3 separate regions of the Homo sapiens genome follow, and all the other regions are linked to region 2. The links are contacts of gene promoters, found by promoter capture Hi-C in blood cells and fetal thymus (Javierre and others, 2016). All regions are on one chromosome and are shown on one strand. The core of a region is centred on a gene start or on the middle of the fragment in contact, and the rest is flanking DNA. Distances in the headings are between cores, read along the strand shown. Region 1 has its middle 59 kb from the start of APCS. Region 2 holds the start of OR10J1 (olfactory receptor family 10 subfamily J member 1). Region 3 has its middle 44 kb from the start of ACKR1.

Evidence for each region. Contacts are between HindIII fragments. The CHiCAGO score rates a contact against its expected background, and 5 or more counts as called.
Region 1: a fragment that was not itself captured here is called in contact with the fragment with the promoter of OR10J1 in region 2 in 5 of 17 cell types (M2 macrophages, endothelial precursors, naive B cells and 2 more); the score reaches 7.3 in M2 macrophages.
Region 3: a contact is called between a fragment that was not itself captured here and the fragment with the promoter of OR10J1 in region 2, in 1 of 17 cell types (megakaryocytes). The highest score is 5.1, in megakaryocytes.

Annotation. Positions count from the first base shown.
Region 1 is chr1:159,645,202-159,647,901 of GRCh38, reverse strand. No RefSeq gene overlaps it. Among named protein-coding and RNA genes, the nearest start is that of APCS, 59 kb to the right of the region's middle. The HindIII fragment of the contact is 873 bases long and covers 883-1,755 here.
Region 2 is chr1:159,438,423-159,441,240 of GRCh38, reverse strand. It overlaps OR10J1 (olfactory receptor family 10 subfamily J member 1), which reads right to left and starts at 1,519. Exons shown (of 1, transcript NM_012351.3): 1 at 274-1,519. The coding sequence starts at 1,449. The coding sequence ends at 520. The HindIII fragment of the contact is 2,085 bases long and covers 372-2,456 here.
Region 3 is chr1:159,246,975-159,249,822 of GRCh38, reverse strand. No RefSeq gene overlaps it. Among named protein-coding and RNA genes, the nearest start is that of ACKR1, 44 kb to the right of the region's middle. The HindIII fragment of the contact is 161 bases long and covers 1,493-1,653 here.

The DNA of each region.
Region 1 (2,700 bases), core at 70-2,569, 210 kb before region 2:
GAAAGGTGGTGACATGATGATTCTTGCATCCTTAGTAACTGAGTCTGTGGATCTGCTCACTAGGTCTTTGCCATGAATATGACTCAGAGCCTTCAACTGCCAGTCTCTGTGCCAGTCTCTGTGCTCTCCAGTAAAAATTCCAGATTCATAGGAGAGAGAATTTGATTGTTTCATCATGGGTGCTATGTCTGCCCCTATATCATCAGGTGTGATCAGGCAACACAGTTGATAGGAGAGGTGTCACCACTGGGCCCCATTTTTGGCGACAACCCAAAGTTATACATATTTACTGCATCTCAGGGCAACGTCCTCTGCCACTGTTTCCCCGATTCTACCTCTTTGAATGATCATTTCTCTAGTTTTTTGTGATTCATCTAAAATATTCTGCCACCTATGGATAAAGTTATCCCCCCAAAAATCACATTGTATATGCAATGATCAGTGGAAAGAGGAGGAAAAAGAAGAAAAAATATAATCCCTCTTTAGATAGATAAAGAAAAGGGGATGATAATTATATCCAAATAGTAAGCAAGGAAAAATAAAAGGAAACCACAATCTTCATTTATTTTATTGGTCACAAGACTTTCTTGAATTTTGACTTTTTTCTAACTTCGGTAATTCTATGTTCTCTTTGTCTTATGACATCATTGGATTGTGATTTTTCTCTCTTGGTGGGTTGATCCTCAATCCTGAGGGTCTGAGCAACTAGTGTTACTACCTGTTAAGAATTTGGATTGTCTTCTCTTAATATTTAAATTTGTGCATAATAGAACAAAGAATTTTCCTGGCAGCTTGGTGTTGTGGCAGCATTAAGGCATATATGACTTGATCCTAATATGCTCTAATATGTTTTTGGTGGTAGGAGTTTAATATATCCAAGCTTGGCTCACCAATTTAAACAGGAGTGTTTGCAAAAAGAAAGGGGAACATGGTCAGAGCCTCTTCTTTGATCTCCAAGACTCCCTAGATGTTTAGTTCCCTTTTCAGAATAGCAACCCTATTTCCTGTGGAGAGTTAGTCAATCACACAAGCCAAGATTCTGCAACTTCCTTCTAGTGGCCCTGTGGTTGTCTCTGTACCAAATATGGAAAATCTTTGTTGTGTTTTCCAGTGTAAGTTTTCTTCCCTTAGGTGTTACAATTTCTATAACACTTAATTATTTACCCTTATTTTTCCTTTATCCTTATTGCCTTATTTGCTTATTTGTGAACTAATGTTCCCCGAATTTTTTTCAAGCTGCCTCAAACCCTTTTTAGAATTAGTCAAGGTAAGCATAAACAGGTAAAAGTGTCACTCCCACCTCCATGCCTTGGTTGTTGGCTGTGAGACTGGTCAGAGTTTAATGGCATGCTGTAAGGCAGCAGCCTAGCCTGTGTCTCAGAGCTGGCATCATGAGATGCCACTTTTGTGGTAGAGTATACCAGCCTTCCCTATCTGGTGGCTCACAAATTCCCAGGGTTCATAGATGTATTCAAGGAAGTTTGTGTGGATAAAGATAGTAACGAAATTTGGCTAAGTATCTAATAAACTAACATTTTCTAGTTTGCCTTTTGGAAATGGGACAGTTTGTCATTCTTGAGCAGATATAGAATGAACATTATCTGTGGCTGATGGCAATCAGATGAATGTACTCAGAAACTCTTGTTTAATAGTTTTGACCATTAAACAGTTTTAAATTATTTTATTCATAGTTGCATGCTATTTAATTTATACTCATAATGAACTGTTGATAAATACAAGAAACATAATGAAGCTTGATGTTGAAGTATAAGTTAATGACAATAATTCAGCAAATTCATCTCAAGATGATCTTACCAAATCTTTAAGTGGCATTCAGCTAATCAAAACTCTTATGTGGCACATTAAGCGTTCTCTGTATTAAGATAGAAAATTTGTCGTGATTGTATCTAACAATGTGTTACAAAGACCTACATTTGGGTTCTAAATCAAGCATAATATCAATTTTAAGAATTTATTTATAATATAGTCAGATACACACATGTAACTTAAAGCAAATTAAGTAGCATGTCACTTGTTAAATGTAAAAATGTCTTTTTATATTATAAATTATTAAAGATAGTGTGAAAATGAATCTTTGCATATTTAATAATATAGTGATCAAATTTTAAAACTTATTTATCGTATTTTATATACAAATTAAAAAACTTTAAAAATTTCTACAGCAGCCACAAATACACACAGGCACATACACACACACACACACACACACACACACACACACACACATCTCATTGCAAAAGCCTTTTATAAGTCCATAATAATTAGAAAATAATTTGGCCATTTCCCTCCATGGGCATCAGATTATTCCTCTCTTTCATTGTGAAATGTGTTCCTCTGTCAGAGGCACTATTATGTAGGATGCCACAATGATGCATAAGAAATTTAGTATAACCACCAAAGGTGGTGCTGACAGATATTTGATGAGCAGGGAAACAAATCTAAACCCGTAATATGTCTATTCTTGAGGACGAACTGCTACCCTATTCATGATAGAGAATAATGCCATTTTCTCTTTCTCCATGTCAGGAGTTTAGCATTAAGTAACCAAGTCAGATTTGGTGAGTGGAAGTCCATGCTAGTAAGTCCATGTATATCCTCCATCACGGCCTTTAATTTATTAGTTCATTTAGCAGTGAATGTGCTGGCCAGAAAAAGAGTTGGGATCAACAACAAAATAGT
Region 2 (2,818 bases), core at 270-2,769:
CAGGAGAGAACATCTATTTCTCCTGGGCTATCTAATCCTGAGGCCACTTTCCCTCCCCACACAGTAACTTATTACTTGACATGTCATAAACATACTCCAATAGGGAATCCAGTTTCAGAAGCCCTGGTGCTCTAGTATAGGAAGAAAGGGATTATAGGAAAAAGATTTTAAGTGTGTCTTGGATTCTATTTTCTCAAGGGGCTTTCTATTGCCTTCATTAGGTGGAGATTCACAAAGAAACCAAAAGGTCAGTAAAAAATTCTCAGCCCATACTACTTTCTGGCCTTTTATTTAGGCATATCTTATCCTTGTTTGTCTATTTATCCCCAAAAATAGGGATAACACTCCATCCAGTAACTTTATTTAAAGCTTCAGACTCCCAGTTGTATGAAACTGCTATTCCTCTTTTGCCTCTTATTTAAGGGGCAGGTCTCTAGGAGCCAAGTGTTTGTGAGTTTACACCTCATATTCCTGCCTAGTGTGGATGTTGACAGCCTCAGGAGAACTCTTCCTACATGGTCAGGAAAACTTCCCACCAACAGCCCTGCACAGAGCATCTTTGACCTCTTTATTTCTCAGGGTGTATACCACAGGGTTCAGTAGGGGAGTGATGACAGTGTAGGTCACCGAGATCAGCTGGTCATGTTCTCTGGTGTTCTCTGACTTGGGCTTGAGGTAGGCAATGGAGGCACAGCTGTAGTGGACAATGACCACAGTGAGGTGGGATGCACAGGTGGCAAAAGCCTTCTTCCGGCCCTCAACTGAAGCAATCTTGAGGATTGTAGAGATAATGAGAACATAAGAAATGAAAACCAGACCCATAGGTACAACAAGCACCAGCACACTGATAATCAAAGTCAGGATTTCATTGACAGTGGTGTCAATGCAGGAGAGCTTCATCACAGGGCGGATGTCACAGAAGAAGTGGGGCACCTTTCTAGCACAGAAGGGTAACCTGAATACAGATGTCACTTGCGTTATTGCTACAATCAGCCCAATGCTGCAGGCCCCCAGGACAAGTTGGATACGCAGCCTCTTGTTCATAATAACCATGTATCTCAGGGGGTTGCAGATGGCCACATAGCGGTCATATCCCATTGCTGTGAGCAGGAAGCAGTTAGTGATGCCAAAGGTTACAAAAAAGAACATCTGTGTGGCACACCCTGCCAATGATATGGGCTGGCTCATACCTACGAGGCTGGAGAGCATTCTTGGGAGAATGACCAATGTATATACAGTCTCTGAAGTGGACAGCATGCTCAGGAAGAAGTACATGGGTGTGTGAAGATGAAGATCCATTCGGATGATGGTCACAATGATGATATTGCCTGCTAAGGTTAAGATGTATAGTGCAAGGAACACGCCAAAAAGGGTGATCTGCTGCTCATGGAAGCTAGAGAAACCTTGGAAAACAAAGTCAGTGATGAGAGTAAAGTTCTCTCTTTTCATGGATTGGTTCCCAAATCTGAAACATAAAAGCATAAAAGTCACATAGTCCCAGTAAAGCAGTAGAAGCACATTTCTGAAATTGATTGAAGTTCAATAGTTCTCAGTTACAAATCTGGTGATGTATTTCCTAGTGGATTAAGTTAATCCCTGGGTTTACTTATCTTTACTTAAAATATTTTTACTCTGTGACCATCTGTTATAATTTTCCATGCATCATAGAATCATATAGTCTCACTTTTTCACTGTATAACCATACATGCTCCTACTTCATATCTACTCTTCCTCCCTGACATCTGGAATGGCTTCTCTTTTCTCCTCTTATTTCTTTCCTACTCTTCAGAGATGAGTGCACATTTTCAGGCCTTCATAAAACCGTATTACACTCAGAGGTTCTCATGTTTATTTGGATTATTTTTACCCCATTATTGCTGCCTCACCTCATACAAACACTTAGCAACTTTATAATACCTTTTACATCTTTTCATATTTCACTAGCTCCAAATTATGCATGGATTGGGTGCTTGAAAATAATTTGTTTAGGGATGGACTAGTGATGTCTTTTCTTTCAAGACTATGAATCATCCTCCTTGCGCATCCTTTAAGAATTAGAAGCAAAGTAGAAAGGTTCATCTTGTCTTCAAGAAGAAAAAGGAAAATCTTAGCCAACCACCAGCCTCTCCCCACTTCTGTCTGAGTGATGGAAGTCTGCTGACAGTTCAGAGCACTGATTCACGTATGTTATAAACTATGCTACATCTTTACCTTCCCTAAACTAGAAGGCAAATTTATAGCCAATACAACTTTGTGAGTAAGCCTACACCCACTCTGCAGAGATAAACAATTGTATCAGGAAAGATACAGCAAATTTAAGTGTCCCTCACCTAAAGCAAAAGCAAACCCTGAATATAAAAAAACAGCTACACCAAAGATACATCATTTTGTTGAAGGAAGGGGATCAGTTCAATTTATGTAATATTTCACATTTTTATCTCTTTAAACAGTAAGCTTCTCTAGGGTATTTAAATTATATTCTGATTTGCTTATGCATATTCAGAAAGAGAAGTTTTGCATAAAGTAAATCACATCAATGATGAAGGTTAGTACGCACGGAGACTTTCTTCAAGTTCATAAAAATCTATTTAAAAGAAGTTGATGACCAGCTGTTAATCATTTACACTAAGAATGCTAAAAAGAAAGTAAAGCTGCAATAGAGAATATTTTCCAATAAAGAAAATCATTTGATACTAAAATATATGTCTAAAGACATTTGTCTTCTGTGAGGCTTCTGAGCAAAAACTATGTAGTAGTCCAGCCACGGAGTGGTATGGTGCCTCTATGGTGAAATCAGAAATGCTTGGCAGAGCTTTTA
Region 3 (2,848 bases), core at 324-2,823, 190 kb after region 2:
TAATGTGAAGTTTTATGTTAATCTGGCTAAGATTTGGGCTATATTTAATGTTTGCTATATCGATAGAGGCCAGAGACTAAATTCCTCTAGTATCCTTGTTTATTCTACTCTGTTAACTTTGAGATTCCCTAAGTACTCCTCTTCAGAGAGAGTTTAAATCTTGCAGCTCTTTTAACTGTGACCCACCCTTATACCAGAGTCCTTTTGATCTGACAGTAAGGTGTGGGAGTGAGGAGCATTCTGTAATCTTATTATTAAGTCTCACTCTTTTAGTGGGCCTGTGTTCCTGGAATGTGACCTTCACAAGGGTGTCTTGTCCTCTCTCCTCACTCAGGTGAAATAGGAATGCTAGAGAGGGCTAGAGTGAGAGAAATTATTTTCCCCTAGGTGGGATAAGGCTCTGATAAATCTTTACCCCTGGAGAGTAAGTCTTTGCTATGAAGAACAGTCAGGTTGTATTCTACAAGTTATTCTTTCCCTCCTTCTACCTGAGCCATGAATTTTTTCTGACCGCTCTTCACCATAAGAACACTGTGTGGTGTCTGGAGATAAAACTCACAAAAGTATGTGGGTGCCCCTAAGATTGCAGCACCTAGGAGTTTCTCATTCTCAGGATAATTCTCACATTAGCCTTCTGAAATTTGTCAAAATTGTTGTTTAAGTGTTCCAGTTTATGGCTCCAGGGCTTCCCCAGCAGTAAGCTGTCTTCATGTGGTTCTCTGGATTCACCTGTTTTTCCAGATTTAGGGGTGGCAATTTGCCCTGCAATCTCAGTTTTCTGAGGTATTCATGAAAAGCTGCTAATTTTGTTTATTTATCTTCTTTGTTGTTGCTGTTGTTGATAGAATGGAACTGATGACTTCTAAGCTTTTGCATGTTGGAACTGAAAGCCAGCTAATCTACTTTTGAAGACCAGATTTTTTACTACCTTTTTAAAGGGTGCTGTATTAGGCTTTTCTTGCATTGCTATAAAGAAATACCTGAGACTGGGTAATTTATAAAGAAAAGAGGTTTAATTGGTTCTATAGGCTTTACAGGAAGCATGGTGCTAGCATCTGCTCAGCTTCTGGGGAGGCCTCAGGAAGCACAATTATGGCAGAAGGTAAAGTGGGAACAGGCACTCCACATGGCACAAGCAGGAGGAAAAGAGAGAGAGTCAGCTGGGGGAGGAGATGTCACACACTTTTAAATGATCAGATCTCATGGGAACTCAGAGCAAGAGCTCGCTTATCACCAAGGGGATAGCCTAAGCCATTCATGAGGGATCCACCCCCACAATCCAAACACCTCCCTCCAGGCCCTACCTCCAACACTGGGGATCATGATTCAACATGAGATTTGGCAGGTACATACATTCAGACTTTGTGAGGCACTCTGCAATTTGGCACAGGCTAGCTTTTTCTTAGAATAAAATCCAAGGAAAAATATCAAATCAATACAAATAATACAATAATTTCAGAGTTTCTGTTAACATCACTTCTTCTTTGAAGCTTTATTTGAAGTCTTCAGCTCACACTGAGCTCACTTCAGTCTGGGTCTAAATTCTATTTTTTGTTGTTTTTTTTTTCACTCAACTTTCACTTAACCAAATACTATCTAGTAATAGTTGACTAATGTTTTTGGATAGATGGGCTGTCTCTTTAAATATAAGCTTTTCATGGGAGGCAAAATATTTTATACAACCATCGTATCCCTAGTTGTGCTATCATATCTGTATACTAGACAAATGGGGAATATTAAATTAAATACTTAGGGTGGTCCAAGTTTTGCAATTTTTTTTTTTTTTGGACGATAGTGAGGCTTCATCAGGTTTTCAGGACAGAGGTATGTCTGGATCACCTCAATTTATAGATTATTATTTTAAGAATAGGTGAGAAGGAAGAAGAGGATAAAGCAGCCAAACATTTGGACCCCACGAGTGGCTGACACATTATTCATTACTACTTCAAAATACAACAACAAACGTACTCATTTCAAAGTAGGTGCGATAAACTAATAGCAGTTCTATAAGTCTTCCATGTGGGCAACTCAACTCTTCCCTCTTTGCTTCTCCCCTCACTACATACTTTCTGCTTAATTTTTTCCCTTTGTCTCACTCTGTATATATTTTATTCATTGATTAATTAATAAAGATTTAGCTGGTGACATCAGCAAGATAGCAGAATAAGAGGTCACAGGCTTCACTACCCCCCATAGAAAGTTCAACTAACAATTATCCACAGACAAGGATGCCTTTGTGAAAACTCCAGTACTTGAGAATAAGCTTGAGAAAACAGTGTGGACAACAGAACTAAATAAAGACCACAAAAGGGGTTAAGTAAAATGGCCTCACTGATTGCATCACCCCATCACCCCTGCCCATTCCATGAGTCAGCAAAGTACCACACAGAGAGGATTCCCCAAGGCTCAGTTTCAACAGTGGGAAAAGAGAACTGGAGTTGGACATCCAGCTTCCCTAGAATTCTGAGACGCTTCCCAGGAAGCCCGCTGTGGTCTCACCTCACAAGGAGTACAGCGGGTAACAGCATGAACACTGAACAAACCTTGCTGATAGCTCTGTGTACCTTCCAGTGGTGGTACCTGATCAGAGATACAAGCCAACAGCATCACCTACCCACAAAGCTGAGCTGGTCACTCCCAGAAGTGATGGAAAGTCCTACCTAGCTTGAATCCCTAGATGGCGAGCCTCCAGGCTTAGTCTCAGACCCTACCACAAGGCCCTCAACCCAGGGAGAGAGATGCTTGTCCCAGCACAATTTGGAAAAGAGTGGGATCCAGTTTATACAGCATTTAGCACAGCCTCAAAGCTTGCCCAAGACCCTGTCCAGGGATGGAGACAACCAAACAG